Regions from separate parts of the Homo sapiens genome. Here region 1 is linked to region 2. Evidence: promoter capture Hi-C in human tissues and cell types (Jung and others, 2019). All regions are on one chromosome and are shown on one strand. The core of a region is centred on a gene start or on the middle of the fragment in contact, and the rest is flanking DNA. Distances in the headings are between cores, read along the strand shown. Region 1 has its middle 60 kb from the start of LINC01216. Region 2 holds the start of METAP1 (methionyl aminopeptidase 1).

The links. Contacts are between HindIII fragments. The study calls those that stand out against the background at their distance.
Region 1: a contact is called between a fragment that was not itself captured here and the fragment with the promoter of METAP1 in region 2, in 1 of the 25 tissues and cell types used here (heart right ventricle).

The regions. Positions count from the first base shown.
Region 1 is chr4:100,611,900-100,618,494 of GRCh38, reverse strand. No RefSeq gene overlaps it. Among named protein-coding and RNA genes, the nearest start is that of LINC01216, 60 kb to the left of the region's middle. The HindIII fragment of the contact is 4,379 bases long and covers 1,181-5,559 here.
Region 2 is chr4:98,993,153-98,999,309 of GRCh38, reverse strand. METAP1 (methionyl aminopeptidase 1) reads right to left here and starts at 3,589. Exons shown (of 11, transcript NM_015143.3): 1 at 3,443-3,589. The coding sequence starts at 3,556. MIR3684 (microRNA 3684) reads right to left here and starts at 1,923; the gene lies at 1,850-1,923. RefSeq lists enhancers at 2,394-3,176, 4,098-4,147 and silencers at 2,918-3,377, 3,538-3,857. The HindIII fragment of the contact is 14,445 bases long and covers 885-6,157 here.

The DNA.
Region 1 (6,595 bases), core at 2,121-4,620, 1.6 Mb before region 2:
ATCTGAAAAGCTGTTGGGAATACAAGTATTTATTTAAAGTTTTTTTGTATATCAAATTTACCTTTGTTATAGGCTGAATTGTGTGTTCCCAAAATTCACATATTAAAGCTCTAACCCTTAGTACCACAAAATGTGACTTTTGGGGATAGGGCTTTTGAAGAGGTGATTAAGCTAAAATTAGGCCATTAGGGAGGGCCCTAATCCAATTTGACTGGTATTCTTAAGAGAAGGGAAAGTCTGGACACACAAAAGACACCAGGGATGTATACACCCAGAGGAAAGAATATGTGAGGAAACAGCAAGGAGATCCTCTGCAAGCCAAAGAGAGGGGCCTCTGAAGAAACCAAGCACGCCAACCCCTTGATCTCAGCCTCCAGGACAGTGCAAAAATAAATTTCTGTTGTCACACCTGTGACAGGTGTCTGTGATCCTCTGCTATGGCAGCCCTAGCAAATTAATATAGATTTTGGTACCGGAAAGTGTGGTGCTGCTGTAACAAATACCTAAAAATGTGAAAGTGGCTTTGGAACTGGGTAACAGATGAAGGCTGGAAGAGTTTTTTAGGTGCATATTAGAAAAAGCCCAGATTGCCTTGGGGAAATTATTAGTAGAACTATGAATGCTAAAGGTGCCTCTGGTGAGCCTCAAATGGAAATGAGGAAGTTATTGGATACCAGAGGAAAGAAAACTGTTGTTATAGAGTGAGTGGCAAAGAACTTCGCTGTAATGTGTTCTAGTGTTTTATGGAAGCTAGAATTTATAAGTGTTGAACTAGGGTATTTAGCTAAAAAGATTTCTAGGCAAAGTATTGAAGGTGTAAAGTAATGAGGGTACTGATTTCTTCTTACAGCATATTGTAAATACAAGAGGAGAGACATAAATTGAAAACAAAATCATTAAGCAAAAAGTAATCAAAACTAAAAGACGTGGAAAATTATCACCCTATCCATATTACAAAGTTAAGCATGATCTGGACCGAACACCAAGGATGTGGCTGAATAATCATTTGATAAAAAGATTAGAGGTCTCACTCGTGGATCTAATCAGCTGTCTCAGCCAAAATGAGGAATAGAGGTGGGTTAATAACAGAAAAAACACTACCAGCTGGAACTAAAAGGGATAGAGTTGGAACAAAATGAAGAAAAGCTAATGGACTTCCTGGATTCTATAGGATGGGATAATAGAGCTATCTGGCTGCAGATAGGCATTATCCTTTAGGAAGAGGAAAGAATGACCTTGAAGACAATGTTGAGATCAGCAAGGCTGCCACTCCTACTTTAGTACTGTGTGGTGAGCTGTCTCCTCCTGGGTTTCAGAGGGCACAGCTGCTACCCAGTGCCATGGAGGCGCTGTTGTCACCTCAGTGGGCCCAATAGGTAAGGTTACTACCCTGGTGAGCCTGGAGGACAGATCGAGCTAAAGAGGATTATTCTTGGGCCTGAAAATTTGATGGAATTTGCCTTGCTAGTTTTGAGTTTGCTTGGAACTAGTGACCTCTTCCTTTTTCCTGATTTTTCCCTTTCAGAATGTGAATACTTATCTTATGCCTGTCCCACCCACTGAATTTTGGATGCAGGTAAGTTGTCTAGTTTTACAGGTTCACAGCCAGAGAGGAATTTTTTCTCAGAATAAATAATATCTGCAGTTTCATACACAAGTAATTTAGATAATATTTAGATAAGATTTGGGATTTAGCATTGATGTTGGAATGGTTTGAGACTTTTGGGCTGTTGGAATTGGCAGTGGGGGGGAGAATGTATTTTTCACGTGAGAAGGATGTTAATTGTGGAGGTCCAGAAGGTGAATGTTATGGGCTTGTGTCCCCTTTCCCAAATTCATATGTTGAAACCCTAATCTTTAATATCTTAGAGTGTGACAGTATTTAAAGATAAGATTTTCAAAGAGGTCATTAAGTTAAAATGAGAGTGTTAAGACTGGTCCTAGGAGTGTCCTTAAAAGAAGAGTAAATTTGGACACACAAAGAGATAACTGGGATGCACACACACAGAGGTAGGACCATGTGAAGACAAAGGGAGAAGGCAGCCATCTACAAGCCAAAGAGAGAGGCTGCAGAAGAAACCACACCCAACTGACACCTTGATCTTGGCTTTCCAGCCTCTAGAACTGTGAAAAAATAAAGTTCTGTTGTTTAAGCCACCCAGTCTGTGGTACTTTGTTATAACAGCCCTAGCAAATGAATTCAACTATTTGTGTAAAATAGGGGTTCTGGTTAATGAATTCTTTCCACCTGGAAATAGTAAACAACTTAAAAAATAAATAGTATTCAAAGTGTGGTCTAGTCACAACCCTTCCAATCTGCCTCAACTTTTCATATTCCTATCTTAGAATGGCCATCCTATCCTCAAGCCGCCTTAGAATTTTAATCCCTCTTCCTATTTAAATTTAAGAATTTGTCATGTGTTGCTAAAGCTATCTTTACCCTGCATCTTGTATCTGAACTTCCTTTTCAATGCAGCAGTCACACAGTACCTTTGGCAATCAATACTTCTGAAATAAAATAATGTCACAGTTTTGAAAGATTATCTGAGGTAACTCCTTCCCATGCCCTTGTAAATTAAAGAAAATTTCCTAAAGCACAATTGTAAATATATTGTTATTGTACATATAGCTCTGTATGTATTTTTGGTTAGTTATTATTGTAAATTAAAGGAGTAATAAGTGCATTTAGACAAATCTGGAAACATGAAAGTATTTAAATATGCACTACTATTCCCACAATGTAGAGTTAAGCAGTGGTAATATTTGTAGTTTTTGTTTTCCAAATTTTATTTTCTGCTTACATAGTTGTGGTCATGGTAATATAGTTGTGTACAAAGCCAATACACTTAAAATAAAGTTGCTTATAAAAGTAATACAAATTCAATGAAGAAAATTAGAAAAATATTTAAAAATCTACAAAGATGGAAAGCAAAACACTGAGAATTCTGCAAAGCTATATAACAAATACTAATATGATTTTAATGCTTTATCTAGCACTCTGACATTTTTCACATTTGAAGTGACAGATACAAATATGAATTAGCATTAAATAGAAATAGTCATAGTTTTTCAATAAAAAATATTACAGAGAGAAATGTATTAACAAATAATAGCAACCATTGGATTTTTTTTCAGCTACTACCGATTAAATAGCAAAACACATGCACAAAAATACTTAGAGTTCAATATGAATTTTCAAATGTACTGAAAATCATTACTGAGTTTTTTAGCCAGAAAAATGGGCATTGCTTTTTCCTTCAAACTGTGTTCTTAAGGAAAGAAAAAGGATCCTTTTGTTTGTAATCCCCATATTAAGTTCTAAGAATATAAATAACGAGTCTTTGAGGAGAAAATCGATCCAATAGAACAAATAATTACTTAAATGTCTTTAAATTTGGTAAATGATTCTTTGTCAACTATAGCGTAAAAGAGATTTCACCTTGGTAATAGTAAGCTGGGCAATTAGAACCAAATCCTCCTGCTGAAGATAGCTGAAAGAGCTGAAGGAAATGTTAATATGAAAGCCAAAATAAGCAAATAAAAACCCTGAAAACAAACAAAAAACTGTTGATAAGTTACATTTGGCCATCCAAAATTAAGAAAAACATGTATCCACCCTCGGCCAGGCACAGTGGCTCACGCCTGTAATCCCAGCACTTTGGGAGGCCGAGGCGGGCAGATCACCTGAGGTCAGGAGTTCAAGACCAATCTGGCCAACATAGGGAAATCCCATCTCTACAAAAATACAAAAATTAGCCGGGCATGATGGCAGGTGACTATAATCCCAGCTACTTGGGAGGCTGAGGTGGGAGAATCGCTTGAACCCGGGAGGTGGAGGTTGCAGTGAGTTGAGATCTCTCCCACTGCACTCCAGCCTGGGAAACAGAGCAAGACTGTGTCTCAGAAAAAAAAAAAAAAAAAAAATTACTCACCCCAAACCTAAGAAAAGTCAAGAAATTAGAGAGGGAAGCCAAGAGTTCAAATGTGTTTTGCCCTGAAGTTGGAAGTATCAGCTGTGAAACTCAACTATGGTTTTACTAGCTTGGTAAGCTTCTGGGGGTGTAGTGGGGTTGGGGGGGTGGGTGGAAGATATGGAGTTGGAGGGTGGGTGGGTATTGGGGGAAGCCTAGGGGTTACCAAGATAAAGATTTTGAAACACCCCTATACAACTACTCTGAGATGAGACTGTAAAGAACTATATTCTCAGAGTAAGGGCAAACCAGAAGTAAATCAATCTTTGTTCCAGGCAACTTCCATCATTTGGTTACCACAGCATAAGATTTGAACATAAGTTGATCCTGAATCGGTACCCTCCTAAAGGCCTGGAAGAAGCCACAAAGATCCTCTCTAGCAGCATGTATAATTATCCGGAACCTCAAATTATACTTCCAAATAATTTTACAAATAATTTTCTGTCAAAGCAAACAAAGCACACATGGAGAAACAAGGTATCCGCTGTGAATGAAAAACAAAAAAACAAGGAATAAAAATAAACTCACAAACACTTCTATTGAAATTATCTGACACAGAGTATAAAACAACTATGAAGGAATGATGTCAACAAGGTGGTGGAAGAGGAGTTTTCAGAGCTCATTTCCTTACAAAAACATCAATTTGAACAACTATCCACACATAAAAATACTTTCACAAAGGCTAAGTAATCCAAGTGAGAGTTTACAGCACCTGGGTGGAGCACAGAAATAAGAAAAGACACATTGAAAAGGTAGGAAGGACAGTTTCACATTACCTGTTACACCACTCCCCCACGTCCTGGCATCACAGTATGGAGAGAGATGCCCTTTGTATATGAGAAGAAGAGTGAAGTGAAGACCCAACTTCACTGCAGACCCCAGCCCCAGGCCTGTCCCAGTGAACCCTGGCACTGTGAGCATTCACAGACAGGCTCCAGTCCAGCCCCTGAGACACCAGGATCCAGGTCTGCCTCAAAAGGCAGTCTCTCTGAAACTGCATCAAAATAAAATAAAAGACCCAACTATATGCTGCCTACAAAAGATTTGCTTCAGCTTTAACAGCACACATAGGTTGAGGATGAAGGAATGGGAAAAGATATTTCATGCAAATGGAAACCAAAAGAGTACACGGGTAGCTATACTTAAGGTCTGTTTTGTCAAAAAGAGACAAAAAAGGTCATTATGTAATGATAAAGGGGTCAATTCATCAAGAGAATAGAATAATTATAAATATGCATGTGCCCAACATTGGAGTACTTAAATATATAAAATAAATATCTGAAGAAAAAAATTGCTAGTAATGCAATAATAGTAGGGGACTTCAATACCCTACTTTCAACAAAAGATTGATTATCCGGACCAAAAATTAATAAGGAAATAGGAAAGTTGAACAATACTATACACCAACTGAACCTAATGGACATAAACAGAACATTTATTCCACAACAGAAAAATATACATTTTTTTCAAGCCCACATGAAATATTTTCCAGGATAGATTATATATTAGGCCAGAAAATAAGTCTTAACAATTTTAATATGATTGAAATTTTACCAAGTATCTTTTCTGAACACAATGGTTTGAAACTTGAAATCAGTAACAGGAGAGGAAAAACAGAAAATTTACAAATATGTGGAAATTGAATAACACTTTTTTTTTTTTTTTTGAGACAAATCTTGCTCTGTTGCCCAGGCTGGAGTGCAGTGGCATGATTTCGGCTCACTGCAAGCTCCCCACCTCCCAGGTTCATGCCATTCTCCTGCCTCAGCCTCCCAAGTAGGTGGGATTACAGGCGCCCGCCACCACGCCCTGCTATTTTTTTCTATTTTTAGTGAGATGAGGTTTCACCGTGTTAGCCAGGATGGTCTCGATCTCCTGACCTCGTGATCCGCCCGCCTCGGCCTCCCAAAGTGCTGGGATTATAGGCGTGAGCCACTGTGCCCGGCCAAATAACACATTTTTAACCGTCGAAGGATAAAATAAAAAATTCAAAAGGAAATTTAGAAAATGTTGAGACAAATAAAAATATAAACACAACATACCATAACTTATGGAATGTAGAAAAAGCAATTCTAAAAGGGAAGTTTAAACAGTTACATTAAGAAAGAAGAATAATCTCATATAAGCAACTTAAGTTTACACATCAAGGAACTAGAAAAAAGAAAAAACTAAGCTCAAAGTTTTCGGAAGGAAGAAAATAATAAAGATCAGAGTAGAAACAAATGAAATAAAGTCTAGAAAATAATAGAAAGGATAAATAAAGCTAACATTTGGGTTTTTGAAAAAGTAAGGAAAATGGACAAACTTTAAACCCGACTAAGAAAAAATGAGAAAATACTCAAATAAAATTAAAAATGAAAAAGGAGGCATAACAACTAATACCACAGAAATACAAGAGGTCATAAGAGACCCTTTGAATAATTATACTCCAACAATTGAATAACATTGAAGAAAGGAATAAATTCCTTGAAACATGCAACATACCAAGATTGAATCATGAAAAAATAAAAAATCTGAACGGAACTATTTAAGTAACAAGATTGAATCAATGAAAATCTTTTCAACAAAGAAAAATCCAAGGCCAAATGGCTTCACTGTGCACTGCACCAAACATCTAAAGAAGA
Region 2 (6,157 bases), core at 2,340-4,839:
CAAGTCACATAACTAGTAAATGATGGAGCTGTGATTCAAACACAGCAGTATACCTCTCTATTTTGATGCATTTATCCATTAATTCAAACATTTAATGGCCACCTACTGCATACAGAGCATCATACTGGGAAATGAGAACAGGGCAGTGAACAAGATAGGATCATTCATGAAGTTCACCTTCCGACTAAAAAACAGACATTCTCGGCCGGGCATGGTGGCTCACGCCTGTAATCCCAGCACTTTGGGAGGCCAAGGAGGGTGGATCACCTGAGGTCAGCAGTTCGAGACCAGCCTCAACATGGAGAAACCCCATCTCTGCTAAAAATACAAAATTAGCTGAGCGTGGTGGTGCATGCCTGTAATTCCATCTACTTGCGAGGCTGAGGCAGGAGAACTGCTTGAACCTGGGAGGCGGAGGTTGCGGTGAGTCGAGATCGCACCATTGCACTCCAGCCTGGGCAACAAAAGCGAAACTCCGTCTCAAAAAAAAAAAAAATCCTCATTTTTCTAACAGGTGAGGTAATCATAGATTGCACAAAAGGTCATAAAGGAATAAACAAGGTGGTGTGACAGAGTAACTGGGAATGCCTTACTTCTGTTAATGGTGTGATAGAAAGGCCTCTTGCAGTTTTGTTCTGTTTGTTCCCAAAGACAAGCTGGCCAGACAGCCAGGCCAGGGACCAGAGCAGTAGAAAGAAAGACCTCCTAGTGATCACAGAAGTGTTAAGGAAAATCCCTAATTTCTTCTTTTTGGTTTTTTGTTTTGTTTTGTTTTTGTTTTTTTCTTGAGACGGAGTCTTGCTCTGTTGCCCAGGATAGAGTGCAGTGGTGCAACCTCGGCTCACTGCAACCTCCACCACCCAGGTTCAAGTGATTCTTGTGTCTCAGCCTCCTGAGTAGCTGGGACTACAGGCGTGTGCCACCACGCCCAGCTAATTTTTGTATTTTTAGTAGAGACAGGGTTTTGACATGTTGCCCAGTCTGGTCTCAAACTCCTGACCTCAGGTGATCCACCCGCCTAGGCCTCCCAAAGTGCTGAGATTACAGGTGTGAGCCACCATGCCCAGCCAAGCCCATATTTCATCACAGATGTATAAAGCGCTTAGAATAAGTTACAGTGACTTGATCAAGGTCTCAAGCTGGGATTGGGGGAACAGCTGTGATTTCAGAAGACAGGTGACACTTCGGAAAGGAAAGAATGTAAACATAGCCTTTGGCTAGAGCAAGAGGCTCAGAAGAGGGGCCCTGAATGTGGGGCTGGAATCCTGAAAGCAATGAGGGATACGCATAATCAGACTGCGGGAAAAATAACTTCTGTACAAAAGGTTTTGTTTGATAGGGTTTTTTGTGGGCGTTTGTTTGCAAGGGGAGGAATTACAGTAGAGAAATAAATTAAGAGAGTATGACAACTGATTTGGTGGGAAATTTTAAAAGCTGACCATAGGAGGTGGTAACAGAAATGAAGAAAAAGAGACAGTTGGGACAGCCACTCTGGGAATATTTGAGTGCATGTCTAACAGTGATACCAGAAATATACCTGCAGAATCCAACATGTAAATACCTCCAATCCTAACACACGGAATAAACCCTAGATGTTTTGTTTTCACAAATTTGTCTAGCATTTTTCCACAAACCCCAGTGATTCACCTTCTTTCTACCTGTTTCATGAATGTGGTTTCACACTACCTTTTTAAAATCTTAACAGAAGATTGTAATACATATTAATTCAAAATGCCACCTACTTTTAAAGTTATTCTACTCAGATGGTACAACTGTCAAAAGCAAACACTGTTTCTTAATTTCAGGTCCCACACAGGCCACAACAAGATAGAATTTGGGAATTTTAAAGAATCTAAAGGACGTGTACTAGGTCTAACATGAGTAATGCTCAACATGTTAAACCTAGTACAGGTCCTTTAGATTGTTCGGTAATGCTATTTTTAGATCAAGCAACACTCCTCCACGTGCAAGTTTTTCCAAATTATACTAACAAGGTCAAGGATCATATCCTATCTAAAAACAAGACTGTATAACACAGCTAAGACCTTTTGCAATCGCTTATCTACAAATATTGTGACGTAAAGATTGTATTTATTTATATCTTTACGTTTTTATGTTTTATGTTGGAAAACACTTTTATTATTTGTATTGTGTTCATATATCTGCCTTCATTCTTATTCATATTTTTATTTATGGCAGAGTTAAATCGTACTAGAATCCTTTAAAAAATAAAGGACTTTACATTATAACAGCATTTCACGTTCCTTGGATAATCTGGGTCTCAGAAGAAGCTTGTGAAACTTACAAAGAAAGCTATAATCATCCCCTCTGTACAGTGTAACACTGGAACTCAGAAAGATTAAGTAACTTTACTAATTCAAGATCGCACAATAACTGGCAAGGGCAGGGCCCCAATCAGGCCTTCTCTTTATTCCGGCTCTCCTCCCCACAGGACGCTACCAATTTAATATTTGAATATTCATGTGCCTCTCTTCACTAAACCTGGACTGTAACTAAGAGCCATACTATTGCCGCCCAGCCCTCATCCTGGGTCTCGAAATGCAGCAGCAACACTAGTACTCTTCAGTAAACAGAAACACGAGCACACGCTTCAGTCTGGACCCCATTCAACGCTGGGTTTGCTCTACTGCACAAAACTTAAAATACACTACAGCATTCACGCCTAACCCTCAATGGAACTGTCCTTTTCACTCTGGGAAATTCAGTCACAGGTGACTCATCCCGTTAGCTTACAGTTTTGTAAATTAATAATTTTATATACCGAAAGAAAAGAATGAATTACACAGACCTCTCCCTTCCCCACCCCCAAAGTTGCTTAAGTGTCAAAGCACGGTAGTAAAGCACAAAGAAGTGGGGCTGGAGCTAGCTAGCGTTCCTCCTCTCTGCGACTCCGACGGTCCTCGGGCCACCCATCTCTCAGAGCCCGGCAGGTAGCTTCAGCCCCCCACCCCGCAGGGACCCGACGGACGGCCCGGCGCCTCCAGCGCCCAGACCCGAGCCCCGCCGGTGCTGCGGATGTGGAGGCTCGCGACGCTCGGGCTGCCCTCCTTCCCGGCGCCGCTACCTGCCTCCGGCAGCCCGCACACCTGGCGGCCCCCGCCCCAGCGCGGGGAACCGGCCCCAGAACGCGGAGGTCTAGCGCGGCCACGCGACCCCGCACAGCCCGCTTCCGCCCCAGCCCACATGGCCGCGGCGGGTGGCGCCCCCGCCCCCGCGTGAGCCCAGCGCGGTTCCCGAGGACCCAGGGACCCCAGGAGGCAGGAGGGGGCGGTGGCGACGCGGGTGGGGGGAGGAGGAAACGCGGCCGGGGGGAAGAGGAGGAGCGCGTCCCGACTCGCCGCAAGGGCGGGAGGAGCCAGCAGGGGAGAAGCGAGGAGGGGTCCCGCAGCGGCGGCATATCCGCGGGGCAGCGGGCGCCTACCTGCGAGCAGAAGTACGAGCCCTGGATGCCCAGCTTGATGCAAGTGGGACACTGGAGCTTGGCCTCACTGCTGCAGCCGTCTGTCTCGCACACCCGCGTCTCCACGGCCGCCATGCTGCCTGCCCGCTGGAAGAGCGCCTCACCGAGGAAGAGGCGGCGGCGGGAGGGAGGAACTGCCGGGCGGAGGGGAGGGGAGAGAGACCGAGTCGGGGGAGGAGCTGGGCCCGCCGCTGGCCTGGGCGCGGGAGGGGGAGGAGCCAGGGCCGGCCGGGACCACGCAGCGCGCCCCGCCCCGGCCCCGCCCCCGCCCCGCGCGCGCAGCTGGTGCCCCGCCCCGCCGGCTTCGCCCCGCCCCCCGCCGGCGGTGCCTGCGTGCCCAAGCCTCCCGGCGGCGCGCACATTGGGGCTGTAAGGGAGCTCGGCAGGGCCCCCCCATTCGGCGCCTTCGGGCGTCGGCCAGCAGAGAACGCGACCTGCCGGCGCCTGACGGTGAGGAGCCGCCCTCTCGCGGCGCACTCTCTGTGCCTACAGTCAGATAAGACAGTCGTCTTCACTGACGAACACCCAGGAGCCCTGATCATCCCCGACACCCGCAGGAGGCTAGAGAGGGCGCTGCGCTCCTCTGCGTTGGATTCCCCCGCCGCTCCTTGGAGAACAGTCCCTTGGGTTAAGTTCTGTTTCTCACTGACATTGTCGGGTCTGAGGCCTAAGGACCACCGCTCATTCACAGAAAGGAGAGCCATAGAGCTGTCAACGGGACGGTGGGCTGGGATTCACATCTGCCCTCCCTCCTGCCAGACTTTTTTTTTCCACACACCACCACCTCCCCTTCAAAACCGATAGTGCTAGTAATAGTAACACAACTGTCAGGTATTCAATACAAATAATTTTTTTGTATAATCCCAGTTGATTGCTTCAGCAGTAAATAGGGGAGAATTGTGCTGATCCTGAAATGTCAGAGTCGAAAGAAGCTGTAAAGGCCTTCCCCTGCGAACCTGTTGCTTCAATCTTTTCAGCTGTATTCCAGGTCGGTTGTGTTGTAACTCATGCTTGAGTGCCTCCTTGTCACTAGGGAAGAGCGAAAAACTAACATTTACTGATCACAAAAGGCTGTGAACTTTGTTATTGTATTTTTTTAACTTCTCCGTACTTAATACACCAGAAAAGCTCATACTACTTTTATTTTTAAGAACTTTGTTTTGGCTAGGAGCGGTGGCTGACGCCTGTAATCAATCCCAGCACTTTGAGAGGCCAGGGCATCCAGGGCACCAAGGCCAGCGGATTCTTTGAGGCCAGGAGTTCGAGACCAGGGTGGAAATATGGCAAAACCCCGTCTCTACAAAAACTAAAACTAAAAACTAAAAAATTAGCCGGGCATGGTGGCAGGCGCCTGTAGTCCCAGCTACTGAGGAGGCTGAGCTGGGAGGATCTGTTGAACCTGAGAAGTCAAGGATATGGTAAGCTATGATCCTGCCACTGCACTCCAGCCCAAACGGCAGAGCAAGACCATGTCTCAAAAAAAAAAAAACTTAGTTTTGCAATATAAGCAGTAAAAATGATGTAATAAAATCAAGTAATAGAAATGTTTACATGCATACATACATATACTTTTGTATACAAGAAAAAAATCAATAAGTATGTATGTATGTATAAAATATTTTTTAAATAAAAACTGCACCATACCATATAAAGTAATTTACTTACCTGATTTCTTCAGTTACTATGATGTCAACTTTTTGTTTGTCGTTTGGTTTTTCTTTGAGACAGCATCTCATCCTGTCAACCAGGCTGGAGTGCAGTGGTGCTCACAGTGAGAGGTGACAGCGAGGTGACAGCATGCTGGCAGCCCTCGCAGCCCTTGCTTGCTCTCGGTGCCTCCTGGCCTCAGCTCCCATTCTGGCCGTGCTTGAGGAGCCCTTCAGCCGCCGCTGCACCGTGGGAGCCCTTCTCTGGGCTGGCCGAGGCCAGAGACGGTTCCCTCAGCTTGTGGTAGGTGTGGTGGCAGAGGCACGGGTGGCAACTGCGGCTGCGTGCGTCGCTTGCGGGCCAGCTAGAGTTCCAGGTGGGCGTGGGCTTGGCGGCCCGCACTCAGAGCGGCCGGCCGGCCCCGCCGGCCTCGGGCAGTGAGGGGCTTAGCACCTGGGCCAGCAGCTGCGGAGGGTGCGCCGGGTCCCCCAGCAGTGCCGGCCCACCAGTGCTGTGCTGGATTTCTTGCCGGGGCTTACCTGCCTCCCCACGGGGCAGGGCTCAGGACCTGCAGCCCGCCATGCCTGAGCCTCCCCCGGCCCCACCGTGGGCTCCTGCCCACGTGGCCCAAGCCTCCCCACGAGGGCCACCCCCTGCTCCAGGGCACCCGGTCCCATGGACCACCCAAGGGCTCAGGAGTGTGGGCTTACAGCTCGGGACTGGCAGACAGCTCCACCTGCGGCCCCAGTGCGGGAACCACTGGGTGTAGCCAGCTGGGCTCCTGAGTCTAGTGGGGACTTGGAGAACCTTTATGTCTAGCTAAGGGATTGTAAATACACCAATCAGCACTCGTATCTAGCTCAAGGTTTGTAAACACACCAATCAGCACCCTGTGTCTAGCTCAGGGTTTGTGGATGCACCAATCCACACTCTGTATCTAGCTAATCTGGTGGGGACTTGGAGAATCTTTATGTCTAGCTAAGGGATTGTGAATACACCAATCAGCACTCTGTATCTAGTGCAAGGTTT